2 separate regions of the Homo sapiens genome follow, and region 2 is linked to region 1. Evidence: promoter capture Hi-C in human tissues and cell types (Jung and others, 2019). All regions are on one chromosome and are shown on one strand. The core of a region is centred on a gene start or on the middle of the fragment in contact, and the rest is flanking DNA. Distances in the headings are between cores, read along the strand shown. Region 1 holds the start of UCN3 (urocortin 3). Region 2 has its middle 37 kb from the start of LINC02561.

Region 1 (7,311 bases), core at 3,349-5,848:
TTCCCTCTACTCTCCTGGCTTCTCTCCACCCTCCTAGCTGGGGCCCTGTAAATTAGATTGACAGAAGACAGACTAACAAGAGAAAAACAAACACAAGTTTGTTGGCCGGTGCATCCTGCACGCCCGCAGGATAACTCAGGGATGAGGAACTCTGAGGGTGGTTAGAACTTGGGATTCTAGAGCATCTTAGCAACAGAGCAATAAATGTTTAGAGAAGTGACAAGACAAGATAAAATACTTTGAGTTTTTAGGGGAGGCAAATTGCAGGAAGGTAAATATACGAGGAAACTAATGAAAGATAAGGGCTAGTGAGTAAGGTTTGTTAGGTAGATTTCTCTGGCTCCTCCCGGCTAATAAAACTCTAGGTTGTCTCAGGGGATTAGGTCTGTTCTTCCTGGTAGAGAGAAGGGCAGACACCTTTACAAATGCATGTCCTGCCTTGGCAAATATGGGAAGGGTAAGAGCTTTTCTATCAATAGTATCTGCTTTTCCTAAACTGTCGTCAGCTCAAAATAATCCTTATGCCATATGGTATATTTTGGAGTCACATAGTTGGCTACCCTTCATCACAGAAAAACATTTAAAAATATTTGAACTGAATGACAATGAAAATACAACCCATTAAAACTTGTGGCATGTGGCTAAACCAATGCTTAGAAGAAAAGTTATATATTAAATAGCTTTAGATGGTTAGATTGTAAAATACAGGGAAAATGAAAATGAAGACTTCATCAATACAGCAGATGGCAGAAAAGAAAAAACAATAATAAATGGAAGAAAAGGGGGATAAAACTGTGCAAATAGAAATCACAATGTAAGATGGATGGTAGAAAATAATTCAATACATCAGGAGTCAAGTATCTTTACATTAGTTTATTAAAGTCCTTGGTTAAAACACAAAGATTGTTAGATTTAATTTTTAAAATTTAAATATATACCATTTACAAAGTAATTCTGAAACAGAAAAGACTGGAAAAATACAGCAAGCAAAAGTTATCCAACGGAAAGCTGGGATAGCTATTTTGATATCAGGCAAAGCAAACTTTATGAGAAGTATTATTTAGGATGAAGAGGTTAACAGCAAGATGATAACATGAAGAATTTATATATGCCAAACACTCCAAATATATAAAACAGAAATAGACAGACTTACAAGACAAAAATTGACAATCCACAAACACAACAGGAGGTAAACACACACCCTGCTAAAAGTGAGAAATCACGAACAAAAAATCAGTCAGAGAAAATAAGGGAGAACTGAAGAAGAAAGATGATGCTAATATTCTGTGTTCACATACAACTTTATCAAGTTATTGCAATACTATCTTGACATCAACCTTGCTAAAAACAAACAGGGAAGGCACAGCAATCTACATTTTAAAATACAGGAGACAGAGGACTAGGGAATGTGGGTGTCTGTGAGAATCAAACAGCCATGCTAGCAACCCAGGCAGAAATGAAAACGGACCTTCCCGGCTCCTCAGTAAAACTTCTCTCCTATAAGTCAAGCTCTCTCACACTTTGCTAATTCTCTCGTCTATCTTTATTTTACCGCCATGCTCAGATGTTGAGGAAATAATTATGTTATTAAGTGTAAGTGCTTTGAGCACTTTGGAGAAATGAGCTTTATAAATATGAGCCATTTCTATTCACCTGAGAAGCTGATCAGCTTTTTCTTCTCACCCTGGCCCTCTTTGTACCCTCTACAGGACATTTACATCCCTGAACAACATGCTCATGCTGAGTCCACGGAAGATACCAATGACTCACAAAGGCCAGAGAGAAGTGCAAGTGTAGAAACACGCCACATTCACACATCAGCCATGGGGAGGGAGGGAAATCGTTGTTTGCTAGAAATGACACTCCAGAGGTTTTGCTACTCATCATCTTCTTGCTGCCCAAGCCTCTGTTCAGTCCCCCACCAGATGCGTCATTCAAGTTGTAAAGCAAATGTACTATTTCTTGACATTTCTAGAAAACTACACCCTGGACTGCACCCTTACAGCTGCTCATGTCCATGAAACATTCTGTGTGGAACTCCATCCAGGCTAGCAGAAGTCACTGGACAATGCCAAAGCCCACCCAGGATGGACCAGTGGGAGCCGATGAGCCTGCTCTGTGTGACGAAGGGACGGCAGGCTCCAAGAACAGCCACCAACACCAAGACCCTTCAGTCCCAGCGAGGTGGCCTCAGGGTAGGAGGATTTCTAGGAAGTTCAGAGGAAACAAGGTAAGAAAAGAAGCCAGGGTTCATCGTCTCTCTTTCTAAACCCCATACTGTAGGGAAGTGGTCCTCATGCCCCCAGAGGACATGTCTGGAAACATTTTTGATGGTCACAGACAAAGAGGGGAGTGCTACTGGCATCTAATGGGTAGATGCCCAGGATGCTGCTAAATTCCTCCAGAGCTCAGGGCAGACCCCAAGGCCAACAAGGAATTACCTCACCCAAAATGTCAACAGTGCTGAGGATGGGAAACCCTGCCCTGGGAGACCAACGTTGCCAGATCCCTGGCATCTCAGAGCCCATAAGGCAGACAGGAGAGTTAAACTCAGGTGGAAATCTACCCCTCAACCTGCATAAATTCCATTACTGCATCATTATCTGAAATGGAAAGCAGAACAAAAACCTCACAAAAACTAGAACAAATGAATGAATGAAGGAACTAATGAAGGAATGAACTAATGAATGAATGAATGAATGAACTAATGAATGAATGAATGAAGTAATGAATTTGAATTGAAACACAGATTCAGTTTCATGTTGCCTCCAATCTCAAGAGGATCCTAGCCCAGGCAGCTCTGAAAGAAGGAAGAGAGGGAGGTCCAATTTCCTATCTCCATAAAGAGACTTAAAATGGGGAGTACAGAGTCTTGAAGTCCTTCCCCACAACAGCTTTCCATTTGTTCCTCCAAATGCTCATGGGCTTTAAAGAGTTTTGGTAATTTCAGAAGACCTCTTACCTCTTCACCTGCAGGAATTCACGAGAGTGGAGCAGCCGTCTGGGAGGAGGGCTAGGGACAGCCAGCCGGTCTTGCAGGGCCCCTTGTCATCAGCTCAGCCCAGTGAAAGGAGCACTGAGCCCAGCGTCAGGCCTGGTTCTCACCTGACTCTGTCACCCTGGGCCTGTGGGGTCCCAGCAGGTCACTTTTTACAGCCTCAGCTTCCTCATCTGTGAATAAGGGGTCAACAGACCGTAGTCTCCCACATCTCCCCATTACATATGGAATAAACTCCCAACTCCGCAGGCCTTTGGAGCACCTTAGTGCAGAGCAGCCTCTGCACCCACCAACACCTCCCTCCCATCGTCCTCCTTCTCTCCCGTTCCTCTCAGCCCTGGCTCAGTCCATGCTGATCCATCCTTTCTGTCTGAAACCCCTCCTGCTCTCCTCTCCTGTCTTGAGTAGACAGGACTGCTCTCTTCTGTAGCATTTTTTACCTACCTTTCTTTCTTTCTTTCTTTTGAGATGGAGTCTCACTCTGTTGCCCAGGCTGGAGTGCAATGGCGCCATCTCAGCTCACTGCAACCCCCACCTCCCAGGTTCAAGTGATTCTCTTGCCTTGGCCTCCTGAGTAGTTGGAATTACAGGCACTCGCCACCATGCCCGGCTAATTTTTTTTGTATTCTTAGTAGAGCCGGGGTTTCACCATGTTGGCCAGGCTAGTCTTGAACTCCTGACCTCGTGATCTGCCCGCCTCGGCCTCCCACAGTGCTGGGATTACTGGCATAAGCCACCGCACCCAGCCTTCCCTACCTTTCTAAACCATGAGGCCCTGTATGGTTAGGGGCCACAACTTACTTATCTCTGAACTCGTGGGTGTCTTGGCAATACCTGGTACACAGTAAGTCCTCAATAAATATAGGATGCATAAACGAGTAAAATCCAAGCCATTTCCCACTAAAACCTCCAGACCTCTGGTGTATGATGACCTGCTGTCATAGCCCAAAGGAATGGTTGAGTTTCAGGTATCCAGAGAAAAATGCAGGTGTAGAGCTTTCCCCTCAAACGTATTAACAAATAGATGGTGCTCAGTCATTTTCGCGGCAGGCTGCAGAGAAATCTTAAACTTTCGTGTTGTTTCACTGAGGGTACGGCAGAAGAGCCCAAGGAATGTGAAAGGAGAAACTTGCATAATTAGACTTTATGTGGGGAGTAGGCACCGAGTGTGTGACAAGCACAAGGGGCTACGTGTGCGGCCAGATGACGCTGCACGGTCAGAACCCACAAAACAACACGGCAACAGGTGGATTTTAAACCCCTTCTCTGCTTTCAAAGCAGGTCCAGGCTCTACATTTACAGAAGGAGAGTTAGGGCAAGGGGAATGTGGGGGAAACTGAAATTAGTTAGAACTAAGATCAGCAATAAAATTCTTCAAAGACACTGCTTCTCACTTTACCAGGATTTTTGTTTTGTTTTGTTTTGAGTTTTTATTTCTTCTTTTTCTTTTTTGTTCTTTGCTTTTATCAATGAAGCAAGTTGCTAGGATGCAAAAGGAGTTGGGGGGTAGAAGGGCGGGGTGGGAAGCAGAGGTGGGAGGGGTCGAGGTTGGAGCACCTGTCGTCTGCATGACGTGGACGGCTGGTTCTGGTTGTATTTTAAATGAAATCTCATCCCAGCGTAGACACCACGTCTGGAATTACGATCCACCCTGTGATCTGTCACTTTTATATACACACAGGGGAGGGGACCGTTTCCATAGAGAGGGAATATCACAGCCCACTTAGGAACAATACCGGAGAAGCAGGAGCCGAGACCCCGGAGCAGCCACAAGTTCATGGGGACGTGCACGGGGCCGCCCTCCTGGCCCTGAAGCTGCGCCGGCCTCCCTGAGCGTTTCGCTGCGGAGGGAAGTCCACTCTCGGGTAAGCTTGTGGCTGGGACTGACTTATGAAGGGTAAATGTATCTGCCCTAATTTAAGCAGGAGGTGCCATGCACTAGACAGGTGTGAGAGATGAGAGCTGCTAGCGCCCCTGGGTGGAAGCCCAAGGGAGCGATGCTGAACGCCCCCCACCCAATCAGCAGAAATCAGCCCCAAAGGGACCAGGGGAAGTTTCTCAGGGAGGCACAATCACATTCCCACGTTGGTATAGAGAGACCCTCTTTCCAAAGGTGTTAGATCAGAGGCAGAAGGTGTTCACACAAATCTGTTTTCTCTGAACAGAGCACAGCTGTGCACAGGAAAGTCAGTCCTCGGAGACAGTTTACAAATGGGGATGGGGTAGGGATGCCGGGGCTAATGGGAGCCACAGGACATGACTCCACGCCGCCTGCAAAGCAGCGAGGACACCTGCACTTACTGTTTACCTGTGCCACAAACCTTCACCTGTGCCATCTCCCGTCACTCTCGGGCACACCTGTGAAGCAGGTAACGTCTCCTTCCTAGGACGCGGCAAGTGAAATGCAGGTTAAGGGATTCACCCAAGAAAAGTCAGAGGCAAGGGAGTTTCCCCAGCCAGGTCCTCTGCCACCAAAGCCCAGAGCCCTTTGCCACACTAGGAACATTGCGGGGGTGTGTGCAGATACCTACAATGGCTAACTCCTACCTGTGAAGGGGAGATGGATGTTTGATGTTTATGTTTTCTGAAAATTCCTGTTCGCAATTTCTTTCCCAAGCATAGCCACCTACCAAAAATAACAAATGTGAGATTTTTAAAACGTTTTAAGTGGTCTAGTTTCAGTTTAACTTCTTATCAGTGTTTGCAGACAAACGGAGCCCACAGGAATAGCTCTGCACTTGGCAGAGATGTGTGATCAGTACTGTTTGCCTCCTGCCTTTGCTGCTTCATGTCCTGTCCTCTCCCTGTGAGGTGCTGGGAATTGGAGGCTGACCCAGGTCCCTCACGTTTCAGTGCTTGGCTCTGCCACAGCTCCCAGAAGTAACTGTGTCTCTTTACAGCATCCTCGACAAGTGCTACTGTCACCATAGCCCAAAGGAATGGTTGAGTTTCAGGCACCCAGAGAAAAATACAGGTGTAGAGCTTTGCCCCTCAAATGTATTAATAACTAGATGGTGCCCAGTTATTTTCGTGGCAGACTGCAGAGAAATCTTAAACTTTTGTGCTGTTTCACCAAGAATATGGCAGAAGAGTCCAAGGAATGTAAAAGGAGAAACTTGCAAAATTAGACTTTATGTGGGAAGTACAGAGTATCTTTTCTTCTTTGGGGAGAGTTCCTTTTCTTTTATCCTATAAACCCTAAACAAATCTAAACAGATCCTAAAAAGAAAAGTCCTGGAAAGAAATCTGAATCTACCTTCCAGCCCCCAGCCACTCACACACTTTGATGGTGAAACCATCCAGGGTTGCAAAGAACCCTTACATTTTAAACGATCTAAAACTAAGCTCAGCACCGGGCGTCCCTATCATGTCCAATTCACAGTTCTGGGAGGTTCCTTTGCTGTGTAACTTTGCATCATTGCTGATGGTAAGGGGACACCTTTCAATACCCTCACAACCGTGTGCAGGCTAGAGCTGAGGGTTTGCAGAGAGAGAAAGGTCTGCTACCTGCAGATGCACCAAGAACAGAGCGCCACGCAGGACACTTGCTCCCTGACACTTTCACAGATTTTTCCACACCTTCAGCACCCTAGCCGTGATTACAGTATTCTTCTCTGATGGTAGACTTGGGATTTGAAAAATAAGAAGGTAATGCATTTTTTAAAAGGCACAGTATTTACAAATTGACCCCAAAAATGTGAAAAAGTAAATATAGAGGTAAAAGGGATCTCACTCCCTCTCCCCAATGCCTTGCTTTTGTAACTGAGATGAGACAGGTAGCACTTCCAGGGAACACATCCAGAGGCTAGCCCATTGCAAGGGAAAACCTGAACTTTTTCACAGGAAAATTGCAGAAAGTTACTTAGACGAGGCTGTTTCATGTTCAGAAGCCCTCATCTTTCAAGTGACTCTAGGTACACATGTATGATTTCATAATTAAAAAACAAAACCAAAAAAGTATGCCATATAAAAGATTTTTTCCTCTGTGATACGTAACAACATGATTTGCAGAGAGAATGTACATCCATGAAAGAATTTAAAAGAGGTTGTTTTGCTTTGGAAAATAAATTGATTTAATTAAGTGCCTGAATACTAATCTGAATTTCAATTCATTCAACAAATATTGATTGAGAATATGATTTAGTATAAGGCACTATTGGCCATGTCAGGCTTTTCCAAGCATCCTGAGTCACTGCTGAGAGCCAAATGACCCAGAGGGATAGTGAAAGGCTTGGCATATTTAGCAGAAATGGAGACACCAAAGAAATATAACACCCAAAGTGTCTTTAAGGGGTGGAGATAGACAGGTAAAC
Region 2 (7,311 bases), core at 2,494-4,993, 56 kb before region 1:
TCATTTTGGCCACTCCCACTTCAGTGATGGCCACAAAGGGCCCCACTGGTTATTAATGTCTTTTTTCAACTCAAACATTTAAACTATATAACCTGGCATATTGTAGAAGAGAACTGTGCAGCATTAAATATTAGCATCTCACACTCGCATGAACAGAAATATTCAGATTGCAAAAATATACCAATTTATGAAGATTAATATTAACTCACTAATTTTTCAAAGACTCGCAATTATTTGATCAATTTCAGGAGAAACTATTCTATTTTTGCACTATGTTCATGCAAATTGCCTAAGACTCATCAGTTTCTGTTATTTTCAAATATAGAGTCACTGACTGATTCTATTAATATTCTGCCTCAGTATTTAAAAAAAATTCTCCTATAATAATTGGAAAAGTTAACAGAAGTGATTAGATTTGTCTTAGAGTGTCTCTTATTTTGTGAACCTTCATGTGAATCTTCAGTATCTCTTATTTTGTGAATCTTCATCATAATCTGAAGTATTCCCATTACTTTTAGGAAAAGAACCAAATGCTTAACCTGATCCTCATAAGATCGCATAATGTATATATCTCCGTATGCTCACTTTGTATTTTATCATCAATATTTGCTGCAACAAAGCAAAACCAACTTCCAAGATAAGGTCCAGCATATGTGGACTTCCCAGCAAATTTTAGTTAATGCTGCCGTCTAACGCCTGGCTCTGATATTACATCAGCTCAGGGTTTTAACCAAAAACAGACACAAATGAGGTCACCTAAGGAGACTTTAGCAACCATTTCCAAGTTCCCTTTGACTAGCTCATTCCACAGACGAGCAAACTGAAGCCCAAAAACTCAGGTCTTTCTCCCAAGATCACACAGCGAATGACCGTCAGAGAGAGTTAGAACACAGAATTGCTGTCTTCCCCCAGACAGGGCATGTGAGGTGTGACCACAGGGCTCTAGGGGTGGTGCCTCACCTGTTAGGCTTTCTGAAATTCACAAACTGCAAAGCATGGCACTGCCCCTAGGAATCTGTTACAGAAAACAAGGATTCTGACAGCTCAATTAAGAAGCAACCGGAATTCATGCAGCCGGGGTCCTTGTGAGAAACAATTTGCATATTATACCAGAAAAGATGGAGAGGTAGCAGAGACCAGGTGCTGCTCGCTTTTGTGTACTGAACTCAGGATTTCTAACTTAATCCTGACGATGACCAGCTATAGAAGGCCTCTAAGCAAATTGAAGAAGGTCACTCCGGCTCAAGGGTATAGGGCGGGTCTGGAGACAGGAAGACCAGCAAAGTTTTATTTTGGTAGTCCAGGGTACCGACGATGAGGACTGCAGGACCTCTACTCTTCTAGTTCACAGAGTGTATTAGTCCGTTTTCACGCTGCTGATAAAACAAACATACCAGAGACTGGGCAACTGACAAAAGAAAGAGGTTTAATTGGACTTACAGTTTCACCAGGCTGGGGAGGCCTCACAATCATGGCTGAAGGCAAGGACGAGCAAGTCACATCTGTGGATGGTGGCAAAGAGAAAGAGCTTCTGCAGGGAAACTCCCGCTTATAATACCATAAGATCTCATGAGACTTATTCACTATCAGGAGAACAGCACAGGAAAGACCCACCCCCATGATTCAATTACCTCCCACCAGGTCCCTCCCACAAGACGTGGGAATTCAAGATGAGATTTGGGTGGGGACACAGCCAAACCATATCAGAGAGCTAATGGGAAGATGGTATTATCAGGCTGTCTAGAGGACACAGGAGAAGGAGAAAGGGTTGTGGGTCCAGAGGAACAATCACTGTAACTGTGGACATGCTGAGCTCGAAGGTCGTTTACACAAATGTGAACCTGACAGAGCCAATCCTTCAAGATGGATCCCAAGCAGCTAACCAGGCGCAAATTTTAAATACAGCCAAGTAGCCATTTGTTGACTGGAGGTCACACAAGCACCGTCAGTTCCCCAAAACCCACACCTCTATTTAACTTTGGAACTTTCAGAGCTCACTTGAACAAACCAATCAGAGCTTACCTGAATCAATCAATTAGAGTTCACCTAAACCAACAAAGGAGAGCTCATCGGAACCAACCAATCAGGGTTCAGCTGTATCAACCAATCAGTGTTCAGCTGTGTTGACCAATCAGTTTGAAGTTTTCATTTGCATACTTGAACCTGATTGGGCAGAAACTTTTGCTATAAAACCTAGCCCCAGCTGCTTGGGAAGCTGAGGCAGGAGAATCACTTCAACCCAGGAGGTGGAGGTTGTAGTGAGATGAGATTGTGCCACTGCACTCTAGCTTGGGTGACAGCAAGACTCCATCCCTCAAATAAAAAATAAAAATAAAATAAAATTTAAGAAAACACCAAACCCTCCCTTTGTTCCCTGGAACACATCTTTGTTTACACCGGAGGCTGCATCTCCCTCGTTTGTCAGCTGTTTGCTGGAATAAAGTCTCTTTCCTCCAATTTCCTTCCCAGAGAACTTTTCCTTACAACCTTAGAAGACAGCCAAATGGAAATACTTAGTAGGTGTTGGAATATTAGGCTGAAGCTCAGGAGCAGGGGGCAGATTTCAGTTACAGATTTTGCACCAAGATACATTTAATGTAATTTTGAAAATTGTCGTAGTCATTATGTAATGAATTATGTAATAAAATTAAATAAGTTAAATAACTGAATAAATTAAATAAAAATATGTAATAAAAGTATGCAATATAATAATTATGTAATGTAATATATAATTTTAAAATCCTCATTGTTACACCGAGATAAGTCTGCCTTGGAGGCAGGTGGAGTTGCCCAGGAAGACTGTAGAATGAGAGGCCAGGAAGACAACTGGAGAACCCACATGTTGGCGTGGGCAGAGTCCACACAGGAAATGAAGGAAAGGCAGATCCATTAGAACGATATTGATAGGATCTCACATCGCAGAAGGGGGGAGCAGTTATGAGAAAAATATGCTCAACACTGACAAATGCTGGGGGAAAAAACTATAACTCCACACTGCCAACTGAGGAAACAGCAAGAAGCTGTTGGTTAAAGCCACCAAAGCTCCCGGAACATTACAAGTTGCCCAACGAAGAAGGGGCCAGTATGAAGAAAGGGAGAAGGAACACAGGGACCCCTGAGGCTGCATCCCAAAAGAAGATGACCATCCTAGAGGAGAAGGAGCTGTGAAATCCTCATTGTCACCGCAGCTTACTTTGCAGAGGGCACAGTAATTTTTCAACAAGTGAGGTGGGAGGTTCGAGAGGTCTAAGTGGGTATTCAAATCAATAGTACAATCTAAATTATAACCTGACTCTGATTTGGGAGTGTGGTGACTAATGTATTTCGGGAAGAAGATCATTGCTGCATGTGCCAAATGACAAACAGGTGACACAAGTTAGCAAAGTTTTTTGTTTTGTTTTTATTAAAGAATACTTAGTGCTAATGAGGATATGGTGAAATAACTGTCTACTCAAGAATGAAAATTAATATTAACCTTTTGTACAACAATGTTGCAATATATATCAACATGTTTACATCATTTGATATAGTAATTCCAATTCTAAGATTTTTAATTAAGTAAATAATTTATAATATGGAGTAAGCCTTATGTTTATCTCAGGGTTATTTATGATAGGAAAAAACTAAACTCAAACTAAATTTTTCATGACAGAGGAATTATTGAGTAAATTATGGTACACATTTCAAGTGGAAAATCAGGCAAATGTTACAAATAATAACTGAAAGTTTTTAATAACTTGGAGAAATAGTAATTATATAACATTAAGCAGGAGAAATAAGATATAAAATTTTATATGCATTATTACATCAGTTCTGCTTTTTTAAGTCCATATAAAAAATTCACAAGATGCCAAGTATAATGTTCTCTGCAAAGAAGAATTGAGGTGATATATTTCCTTCTCTTTCAAATTTTCCTTACTCATCCTGCAATATTTTTATAATCAGAAAAGGTCATCCGGGCATTCAGGGATGAGAGCTGTTAGAAGGATTCCAGGAGTCTCACAGGCTAAAGCAGGTGAGGAGGGCTTCATGAAAGTAGTGGGACTTGAATTAGAATCTGACGGGAAAAAAAAAATTATACACTGAAGAGGAGTGAACGTTCCTGGCAGGCAGAATGATGACAACACGAACAAGATGGGGTGGTGAGTTAGGTGCAAAGAGTTGACCAGTTGGCTGGAGAGAAAGGAGACTTTGTGTATTGGAATATTGGAATTTAAGAGTAATCAGATGAATATAATATTGATGGAATGGAAGAATAAAGCTATTGAATAGTTTTGATCAACAAAAAAGACTCATGTGTTTTCTTCTAGCTTTAATTTTCATTAAACCCTCAAAACAATGGTTGGCATAGGAAGTGTTTGACAAACATTTGTGGGATGAATGAATGAGGAAACAAAGTCCAGGGTAGAAAACATTCTGTAAGTGCCGTTTAAATGCCTTTATTTTCTTCTGCAATCAAGTGTCTCTCCAAGATGATAGAGTAAGGTAGCCTCTCCACCTTTCAGCTCTGCTAATTTGCAAGTCAGACATATTGAGCTTCTGAAAATTTCACAGACCCACTCTCCCTTGGAAAAAATGATAGAGATAAAGTAAATGAAATAATTACTTCTCTACTATTCACCAGGGTCGTATATTACTCAGCTGAGGAAAATGATGATGTGTGCCATTTACTAGTTTAAAAAAAAAAAAAACACTAAACAAAAACTCTATGTAAAATTTCAAATTAAAAGCTTTTCCTAAGCATGGGGTTTATCTATTTCACAATGAAGACTGCATATTTTTCATCTTCCTTTCTAAATAGCTATTGATTACATTCAATTAATTCAGAATCTGATATAAAAAGATTTTCCTAAGACCTAACTCTCAAAAGAGCTAGAAAATGATGTCCAGGTGTTTGAAGCCAAGTCTCACACCAAAGCCCATGGGCTCCACCATCAGTCATCCTGCCTGCTGCCTCTCATATCTCCATCTCCAGCTGGCTGGTGCTGTGAGTTGTTCCATCGGCCCTTACCTCCACTCCACCCTTGGATTTACATTGTCTTGAGTTCTTGTATCTTACAAAATGTATAAGCTGTCAGTCAGCTAACCTGAAAGTCCAACTGTAATTCATGACCAACAGAGAGAAGAGGATAAGCATGCTCCCACCCAAAGCCCTTTTTCTACACAAGCAGCCAAGCACTGCTCTGTCCTCAGACCTCATCTGCCTGAGCTTTCATACATTGTTGTTCACCATCCCTCTTTTTAAAAATTCACCACTTGGCTTCTTCAAGTATTTCTTAAAACGTGATTCTTGGTCCTCTTCCTTCCTTCTTTACTCTCTTATATGTGTACGTCATGCAATGCTGCACATTTAATCCTATCAGGAAGGGTGATGAGGCATAAAGAGGACAGATTTGGAATCAAGCAAACATAGGTTTTCTGTGTGTGTTGGTTCGGTTTGTGTGTTTTTTTAGAGACAGGATCTCACTGGGTCACCCAGGCTACAATGCAGTGGTACAGTCCTTGCTCACTGCCCCCTTAACTTCCTGGGCTCAAGTGATCCACCACAGCCTCCCGAGTAGCTGAGACTATGGGTGTGTGCCATCACACCTGTCTAATTTTTTAATTATTTTTGTAGAGACTGGGTCTCACTGTGTTGCCCAGGCTAATAGCGAACTCCTATTGTCAAGGGATCCTCCCACCTTGGCATCCCAAAGTTCTGGGATTACAAGCATGAGCAACCATGCCCAGCCAAGCATATGTAGGTTTGAATATCAGTTCCACTACTTACTATTCTCTGTTGAATTACCTAATCTATATGAGCCAAACAATATTTTCCTTACTGAGAGGTTGTGGAGATTACATGAGGCCATAGTCAGGCTTACCGCATGGTACATGCTCAATACATGTGAGTTATCCTTATAATCATTATTAGGTGTGTGTTAACATGGGGATATTTGCTGATAATTAATTAATAGTAAGACTAAGCTTGACTGATGCTGGAGAACCAGGGTTCAGGAATTTGAGAATGATTGCCTTTGGGACACACACTTTTGGAAGAGGCCTTCCACCTGACCCTCCACGTCACTGCATTTTCTTGCCAGCTATGCCCAGAATGCATGGTCCTGACTGCATCTTGCCTGGGCTGTGTCTCAGGGTTGTGCTTATAGCAAGCAGCCTTCAGGGAGGAAGTAATGTCTTTCCCTAGGCAAAGGGCAGGCTTCCCTCCACTTGCTCTAAAGCCATGAACCCTCCAAGCTCATTGTTCCCAACCCACTACATGTGGGAATCTGTGCAGGTGCCTAGCATGTCAGTGGTGCTGACAGGTCAAGTAACACAAGAAGGGAGAGTGGATTGTTTGGTTTGACAAAATGAATGTCGCTGGTGTCCCTGAGAAGAATCAAGTTTGCTGGTGTCCTTGAGAGAAAAAGCACCATGGGAGTGAGTTCAAAAGAGCATGTTAGAGGCCGGGCATGGTGGCTCAAGCCTGTAATCCCAGCACTTTGGGAGGCTGAGGCGGGCAGATCACGAGGTCAGGAGATCAAGACCATCCTGGCTAACACGGTGAAACCCCGTCTCTACTAAAAATACAAAAAAGTAGCTGGGTATGGTGATGGGCGCCTGTAGTCCCAGCTACTCAGGAGGCTGAGGCAGGAGAATGGTGTGAACCTGGGAGGCAGAGCTTGCAGTGAGCCAAGATCGCACCACTGCACTCCAGCCTAGACCTGGGCAACAGAGTGAGACTCCGTCTCAAAAAAAAAAAAAAAAGCATGTTGGAAAAGAGGGTTAAGTTGTTGAATAGAAACTTTTTAAGGCACTTTTTGCCAGAAGAGAAATGAGAAAATGAGAAATTCTCATGCTCCCTCTAAGAAAACTTACTCTTAACGGTTATAAAGGATTGTGTGATTCATAAGGAACTACTTATGAATACTATCTTATGAATACTACTGATGAATACTACTTATGAATACTTAAAGGATTCATAAGGAACTACTTATGAATACTTAAAGGATTCATAAGGAACTACTTATGAATACTATCTTAGCATGTTAACCTTCCCATAAAGTATTTATCATTTACAGGAAAAAAAAAATGTTTTCAACCAAAGCTGTCACCCTTTCCTGTTTGGGCCACAAGCCAGCCTGAGACAGAGGCTGGAGGCTGGAAAGCTCTGCCTGTCCCCCCGCCACACTGCAGACACATGGCATTCTGGTGACCAGGCTGCATTTGACAAGCCACAGGTTGAAGCTCTGTAGCCCTCTTGGTTTTATTGCCCCTTAAAGGAGATTTTAAATACATCACAAAGACTTAGGAGGGAGGATGCTGTCTTAG

The links. The method cuts DNA at HindIII sites, captures the fragments that hold promoters and counts their contacts. A contact is called where the count stands out against the background at its distance.
Region 2: a contact is called between a fragment that was not itself captured here and the fragment with the promoter of UCN3 in region 1, in 1 of the 25 tissues and cell types used here (IMR-90 fibroblasts).

The regions. Positions count from the first base shown.
Region 1 is chr10:5,360,368-5,367,678 of GRCh38, forward strand. It overlaps UCN3 (urocortin 3), which reads left to right and starts at 4,599. Exons shown (of 2, transcript NM_053049.4): 1 at 4,599-4,863. The HindIII fragment of the contact is 10,177 bases long and covers 1-6,598 here.
Region 2 is chr10:5,304,862-5,312,172 of GRCh38, forward strand. It overlaps the pseudogene RPL26P28. Among named protein-coding and RNA genes, the nearest start is that of LINC02561, 37 kb to the left of the region's middle. The HindIII fragment of the contact is 3,209 bases long and covers 2,140-5,348 here.